Regions from separate parts of the Homo sapiens genome. Here region 1 is linked to region 2. Evidence: promoter capture Hi-C in human tissues and cell types (Jung and others, 2019). All regions are on one chromosome and are shown on one strand. Each heading gives the region's core, a stretch centred on a gene start or on the middle of the fragment in contact. The rest is flanking DNA. Distances are from core to core; before and after follow the strand shown. Region 1 overlaps LINC00469 (long intergenic non-protein coding RNA 469). Region 2 holds the start of SDK2 (sidekick cell adhesion molecule 2).

What was found. Contacts are between HindIII fragments. The study calls those that stand out against the background at their distance.
Region 1: a contact is called between a fragment that was not itself captured here and the fragment with the promoter of SDK2 in region 2, in 5 of the 25 tissues and cell types used here (IMR-90 fibroblasts, aorta, mesendoderm cells and 2 more).

Annotation. Positions count from the first base shown.
Region 1 is chr17:73,802,132-73,805,784 of GRCh38, reverse strand. All of the region lies in intron 2 of LINC00469 (long intergenic non-protein coding RNA 469), which reads left to right. Among named protein-coding and RNA genes, the nearest start is that of LINC02092, 17 kb to the right of the region's middle. The HindIII fragment of the contact is 8,376 bases long and covers 1-3,653 here.
Region 2 is chr17:73,642,185-73,646,001 of GRCh38, reverse strand. SDK2 (sidekick cell adhesion molecule 2) reads left to right here and starts at 1,557. Exons shown (of 45, transcript NM_001144952.2): 1 at 1,557-1,977. The coding sequence starts at 1,914. It overlaps LOC124904054 (a long non-coding RNA gene), which reads right to left and starts at 528. Exons shown (of 2, transcript XR_007065893.1): 1 at 308-528; 2 at 1-181. The HindIII fragment of the contact is 11,047 bases long and covers 1-3,817 here.

The DNA.
Region 1 (3,653 bases), core at 968-3,467, 160 kb before region 2:
ATCCAGCTCCATGTTGTTATCTAGCAGTCATCTCAGGCTTGACATGTGTAAGGAAGAACCCTTGATTCCACCGTTCTCATATTTGTGGCTCCTTCACGTCCTACATCTCAGTACATGGGACACATCTCCTGGTTGATCAGGACTCTTTGGCTGAGGAACATGAGTCAGGCAGGTTCATTCTGAGCACGCACAAGTCCAAGGAATGAGGTCTACCTGATTCTGTCCACTCCCCTACATTCATCACAATCTGTTATGATGATGCCCTGTGTGCAATGAGGAAAAAGACTCCTAGATCTTAAGCCCTCATCATTGTTCTGGGGCATCTTCAATGCCCAGCATAGGGGCCTGCATGTTCACTACACTGCTCTAACTTCATCATGACAAAGACAACCTTAATACTCTTGGATGGGGATAAGGAGGGATCAATATTTCAGATACAGACCCTCTAGTTGGATGCAAAAAAGAAACTTTGCTCTCTTCCCCATCACTCCCAACTCCTATCCCTTTTCGCTGCCTTTTGAATTCTTACCTATCCATCAGAGCTGCCTTTTTAGTGAACCCACCGTTGACCACCGTGTGCAACGGTGAGCTCTCCCAACAGGGAACAATTCTATTTTTGCTATCTGTGCTGCTCAACTGACACTGAGCAGACCACACCTTGTAGTATTAGCTTTTTATGTGCACTCACTTAAATTTATGTGATTAAATTAAAGGCGGTAATGTGTGTGAGGACACCTCTATCTAGCACTTTAGACTCGGTATCATAATTGTCGGTCGGCTTGTGTGTCTTCCCACTAAGCTGTGATCTCCTTGCAGACAGAAACATCATCTGTCATCTCTGTCTCCAGCACCTGGCACCCAGTAGGTGCTCAGCAACACTGGAACACACTAATATCTGAAGGCACTCTGTGAAATGTAAAGCACTGAACACACTTAGAGCATGGTAATGATGAGTTTGAATGATGATGCTGTTTACAAGTCATCTCCCTAGCAAGGGCTGCATTTTCTTCCTCCGGGAGCACATCAGAATACTCAGCCCGTGTACATGGTGGGCAGTGCCTATACCTGGGGCTGAATTTTAAGGAGCCTCCGGTTACCTCCTGCTCTGCCGCTTAAGAGCTGGGTAATCTGGGCAACTTCCTGTCTTCGCTGAGTCTACTTTCCCATCTAAAGAATGGAAGCCTGGGCAGCTTGATTCCAAGGTGCCGTGGAAGGCCTTAGGTCTCAGCAAGGGGGCTGCGTCAGCAGCAGGGGCCAGGGAGGGCTTGGGTGTCATTTGATGTACACAAGTGCCACCTATTCCACAAGAAGACTGCAGGGCAGGGGAGAAGGGCTGGGGGATCAGCAATCAACAACAACACAGCTGTGACAGGGAGGAAGCTCAGAGCAGAACCAATCTCCCTTTAACATTCCAGGCCAGCGGTGTGTGCCTTGGATAAAGTTCAGGTAATTGTGCCTTCAGCCTGCCTCCTCCCCTCCCCCACCTTTCCCCTGCTCTGTGCTGACAGAGTTATAATAATTGGGTGCCGCTGCTTAAACTCATCAGCTCCAGCTTCCTGAAAGGAAAGTTGCAATTAGCAGTCCTCACCCTGTAATAAAGCCTTTAATATCCACTTTCATGGTTCATATTACAGTCATTCAGGCCTGTCCCCTTGCACACAGCCTGTCAGGCAGTGGGGCTGTGTGCCCATGAGGGAGCTGCCCGCTGAATGGCTCAGCAAACAATTGCTCCCAAGGCCCAGCAATCCTGGCCAGGCAGCTGGGGAATGGTGCCGGGAAATGAGAAGGGATATTTCTGTGCTCCATGGCTCCAGAGGGCCAATGGGGAATGGGAGGGAGAAAGGAAGGGGCTTCCTCTCCCTTTGCCTCCCACCAACCCTCCAAACTTTCCCACACTCTTCCCTCTTTCATGGAGCCACCTTTCATTCCACTGCTGGAAATTTTAAAACAGGAGCAAGAAGGTAGAGGTGGTATTGGGGAGAATCAAAGGGCTTCACCTGTGCACACCTGCCAGCAGGTAACAGATCTTACATGGGAGAGGCGTCCTGAATGGCAGCAGTGAGGGCCAGGTATGTTTTAGTTGAGGAGTAGCTTCAGCCAGGGCTTCTGCCCACAATTGCCTGAGTGGTGGCCATCCTGGGAAGTCACTTCCTGCTCTGGAAAGAACATTCCTTGCTATGGGTTAGCAGGTCATACTCAGTCTCTCACTTCCTCAGTGAGTAATTTGCAAGCAATTAATGAGAACCAACTATGTGCGAAGCACAAAGATAAGTAAAAGATAGCCCATGCCCTCAATGAACTAAACTAAAAAATAATGACAGCACATATGGTGGGGAATACTAGCAAGAGGCACAGGAGTAGCCTGGAGGAGGGAAAGGGACATCCAAGGACTTCTTGGAGGAGGGGCTGTCATATGTGGCAGATTATATTTTCCCTCAGTGGCTGCAACAATATTTCCATCCCACATGCTCTCTTCAGAACCTTGCCATTCCCTCATCACGAAGTGAAATATCCCCTTCCTTTGAACCTGGGCAGGCCCTTGTGACAACCTTGATGAGTAGACTGTAGCAGCAGTGATGCTACAGGACTTCCAAGGTTAGGTTAGAAAAGGTCAAGAAGCTTCTGCTGATCTTTCTCTCTCAGTATGCTTGCTCTAACAACATGGCCACCATGTTGGGAGGAAGCCCAAGCCACATGAAGAGCCTATGTGTAGGTGGTACCCACTGACCCAGGCAGACATGTGAGTGAGAAAGTCCTCAAGATGACTCCAGCCCAGCCACTGTCTGACTGCAGCCATATGAGAGACCACGAACAAGAACAGAACCCAGTTCTGAGCCCAGTCAAGCCCAGAACTATAAGATATGGTAATAAAATGATTGTTGTTTTAAGCCACTAAGTTTGGGGTTATTCATTACATAGTGATAGATCATCAGAATAGTGATTCTTAGATTACAATAGAGGTTGACCAGATGGCGGATGAATGATGCTCCAGGCAACAGGGACAACACATGCAAGGCACAAAAGCATGAGATGGGGCCTTTGATTAGAGACACAGGAGCTGGTATTGCCATGGGTGCCTGCTGGAGATGGTGTTGGAGGGTGTACAAACCATGTAAAATTAGGCAGCATGGGGTGAAACTATCCTGGAAGTCACGGCATGTTATGGAGGTTTTCAAGCAAGACAAAGATATAATTATCTCTGGATTTTAGGAGAAGGACCACTAGCAATGTGGACAATGGAACGGCCTGAGATGGGGCTTATTCATTCAGTAAATATTTGCTGCCATTTACCCAAGTGCCAGCCTCTGGGCGAGCTCAGTAGGGAGGATGTACAGATGAAAGACTACCCGATGAATCTGCTCAAGAAAGGAAGACAGTGTCAGTGAAGACAGGAAAGAGAGTCCTGGGCTATTTTGGGCATAAGATCAGTTTTGTGGCCAGATGAGTATGAGATATAAAGAGAAAGGGGATTCTGGAAAGCCTCTTGGATTTCTGAATTATGAGAGTAGGGGAATGCCAGTCCCTGAAATAGAAAATAGGAGGAGAAGCAGGTTTAGTGGGGAAGATAAAGGGCTCCATTTGGGCACAGTGATTCTTAAGTAGATAAAGATGTCCCACTGCCAGCTGTATTTACAAATTCTGGAGCTCAGAAG
Region 2 (3,817 bases), core at 308-2,807:
GAGTCCACCGAGGCGAAGGCACCTGAAATTTTCCCAGTGCCCGGGAAATTTTAACAGAAGCCTGTTAACCCCAGCTGAGCTTCGTGGAGTAGGCGCTAGCTCTGGGCCACAGCAGAGGACGCCTCCGGGCTCTCTTGTTTGAATTCCTCCACCAATGTCCGGTTCTTCTACTCTTTACAAGCTGGGCTCCGAAGGAAAAAAGAAGAAACAAAGAACGCACGCTCCTTGGCACCAACTTCACTTTCTCAGGCTTCTGCAGGTCCCAGGCCTCCCGATGTCTCCCCCTCCGCCCTGAGCATTTCCAGACCTTGGAGAGCCTGACTTGGGAAGGGGAAACTGGAATCAATCGGTTGACCGACCCCCTTTTCCCAACCGCCGCCTCCCCACCAATCACTCCATGTCCGGAAGGGGGCTGGGGGCTCCCGACTATAGGAGACTCTGGGAGTCCTATGAGGCCTTTGAGACAGGGGCGCGAGCGAGGCTGGAAGGAAAGGCTGGGCAGAGAGCGGAGGGGCTCGCGCGCATCTCTCCCGGCGCGGCAGAAGGTTGGCACTGCTGCCCCCCTGCGGGTCCCAGAGCCGCTGGGCGCCCGCGGCCGCGCAGTCGGATTGTATTTCTGCGGGGCTCGCTCCCGGGCCTGGCTCGGGGCCGCCGCCGCCGCCGCCGCCCCTCCCGGCGCGCAGGCTGCTCTCCAGTCGCGGCCACGGGGTAGCGCTCGGCCCCCCTCTCCGCGTCTCCGCCTCCGCCGCGCTCGTCCCCGGCTCACGCTGCCCCCGCAGCTCCGGCTCGGCGCAGGCAGGAGCGGCTCTCTGGACGCCGAGCCCGGGAAGCGGAGGGCGGCGGGCTCGGCGAGCGGCAGCGGCGGCCGAGGCGCTGGGGCGGCCGTTGCTCCTCCGGCCCGGGAGGTCGGCGATCGCCGGGCGTCCGAAGGGGCGCCGCGTCCCCGGAGCCGGGGCTGCCCGCCGGGCTCTCCGTGCGTCTTCCCGAGAGCTCCGGCCGGGGCGCGGCGGAGGGCAGAGCCGCCGGTCTCCATCCTCGGGCCGGCAGGAGGCTCTGCGCCCGGGCGCCGGCGACAGCCCGCGTCGCGAAGCCCAGCACCCTCCCCCGCCGCCCCGCGGCTGGCGCGGACATGGGCGCTCAGGGCTGCGCGCCCGGCTCCGGGACCCGCAAAGTTTGCTAGCCGGCTGGGCGCGGAGCCGAGGGCGCGCCCGGCCCCAGCGCCCCCGGAGGAGACCCGGCGTCTCCCGATTCGGCGCGAGGGCGGTGGAGCCCAGAGGGGGTGGTTCGGCCCCGCCAGATGCTGCCTGCAAAGTTAGAGAGAAGAAAACTTCAGCTCCAGGGAGATTCGGACCGCTATGCTCACCGCGTCCCCCGAAACCGGCGCCCCTAAAAGAACCCCCGCACCCGCGTCTGCCACTGCGCTCGGCTCTGGCCGGGTCCCGGGGGCCCGGCGCCTGGAACGGCGGTGACTGCGTCGGCCGGGAGAACCCAACCAGGGGGCGGGGAGGGGGCGGGCAACGTGGCCACGGGAGGAAGTTTCCTGAAGTTGTCCATTTATTCCGGAGCTCGGCCGGCGACCCGGCCGGATCGCAGAGGCCGCCCTGTTTGGGAGAAGTCGGAGTTGGGGTGCTAAGGGAGAGAGGCGCCCTAGTCCGAGAGGGCGGCCTGGCCTCTTTCTCCCTGCTCGCCCCTCGCCTTCCGGGCGCGCTGCCGGGCTCGGACTAGTACAGAAGAGGAGGAAGGGTTGGGGTAGCCAAGCGCTGCCCCTCCCGGGCATATTACACCCCGGGGCACGGAGCCGCGTAGACTGACTGTTTCCTGGGACTAAGCCACGGGGTATCGGACCCCACCAGGATTATAAAACAGGGCGGAGGGAAGGGAGACCCCGAGGACCCCTCTCCAGGCTGGTCACCATGTGGGGGCTTTTGATCTGGACACTGCTAGCTCTGCATCAGATCCGCGCGGCCAGAGCCCAAGGTAAGGAGGGACCCCCACGTGGGGACAGGGAGGGGGCTGGGAGAGTGGGCGGGGGAGGGGCGGCGGGAGCTGGCCGGCCTCACGGTGACCTCCTGGACACCCGGCTTAGCCGTGGCAGAGCCCTCTCCAGGGAGTTTCAAGACACCCCATCTCCCAAGTTTTGGGGCTCTTTTGGGGGTGGGGCAGTCTCTCCGAGACTTGTGGCTTCCGAATGGGGGAAGGTGGGGACGACCTGGGGAGGCAGAGAAGAGCCCAAGGTGAAGTGGGAGGGGCGCTCCCCTCCCCCCGTCTGCTGTGGCTGCCCTGCGCCGGCTTGGGAGGGGAGCGACATTCCGTGCCGGGCTCCACGCTCGGCTACGCTGAGCTTCCCAGACCGAGCTCCTGGTTCCCTGCTCGGTGTCTGCGGGGAAGGGCAGGGCCCCTGCCGGGCAGGCGATGGCCTCCCCGGGGCGAGGGAGTGGGGTGGGCGAGCGCTGGATGCCGGGTTGCTCGCCCGGGGAGAGCAATTGCCCGGCTTGGCCACGTACGGGAGCCCGCCCCTGGCTGCTCGGCCAGCCGCTGGGGCTGGGGGTGCTTCGCTGCGCGGGCCTGGAGCCAAGGTCGCGGGTGCAGCCGCGGACCCACCGGGGGGTGGTGCACAGGGAGGGTCTGAGGCCTCCCCTCCTACCCATCCACCCACACCCAGCATCCCCGCCCCTGCCTCCAGCCTCCGCTGTTCGCTCGATAGTCTGTGCAGCCGCTCGCTGCTGTGACCTGTGGCTGCCGGGAGCAGCCTCGCGGTGGAGAAGGGCTGGTGGCTTTGGGTTTGGGAGTGCTACGAAGGATCCGAGGTGTGATCTGCGCTGCCCGCTTCCTGAGGGTGGATGCCCAGACGTCCCCCTGGTCCCCGGGCAGGTCCCCGAGGTGAAGGGCGGCTGCACCGGCGGTTCCTCGACTTTGGGGTTCGCCGATCCAGACAGTGGTGTCAGCGGTGTCCGAGCGGCGCCTGCTGGGGGCGGAGGGAGACGAAGCCTGGACCGAGCTCCAGGACTCGCAGGGCTAGGCCTTCACTCTCGCAGGCTCAGGAGGGGGCCAGACCCACCCTAGGGGTCCGGACTGTGGGGGCTGCAACCCACTCCCCACGCCGCCTCGTGCGCCAGGCAATCCAGAGAGCCAAGATCAAAGAGATGAAAATAATCAGCTCTCACTCACAGGGCTGAGGGGAGGATTTTACGAGGTAATTTACATAAAAGCACTTCGAAATTTTGTAACGAGCCCTATAAATGTAGGGTAATAAAAGTTATTATTTTTATGATCATCATAAAATCTTTGAACAAGCGAGGACCTCAGAGGTCATCTTATTCTAGTAGCCATTTAACAGATAGGGAAACTGAGGCCAAATGGCATTAAATGACTTGCCCAAGGCCACTCTGTGATCTGGGGGCAGAGGCAGGTCTGGAACCAGATGAGTTCTGAGCCTCTCTCCCTCAAACCAGGACTAGCTGCATGGGGTCTCCTTGGTCTGGGCCCCCTCTCTGAGGGGTCCCAGGAGGACCCTGATGCTGGCAGAATAGGAATGGGTTGTCCTTCATCCTGGAGCAGCCTCACAGTTGTGCTCTGGGACAACCAGTGTTACTAGCCAAAAGCCTGGACGGCGTGGAGGGACGGGATGCCAGCATCTGTCTGGACCCTTCTAACTTCATTGCTCTACAGACTTTTCAACAATGGTATGATTTCCCTGGGCAGGTGGCTCACCAATTCTTGTCTCATCTAGGACCAGGCCCTTATAGAGTCCCCAGGGCACCTGATGGCCCTTGCTTTGGGGTCTTCATGTGTCCCTTCCTGCCCCACGTCCACACCT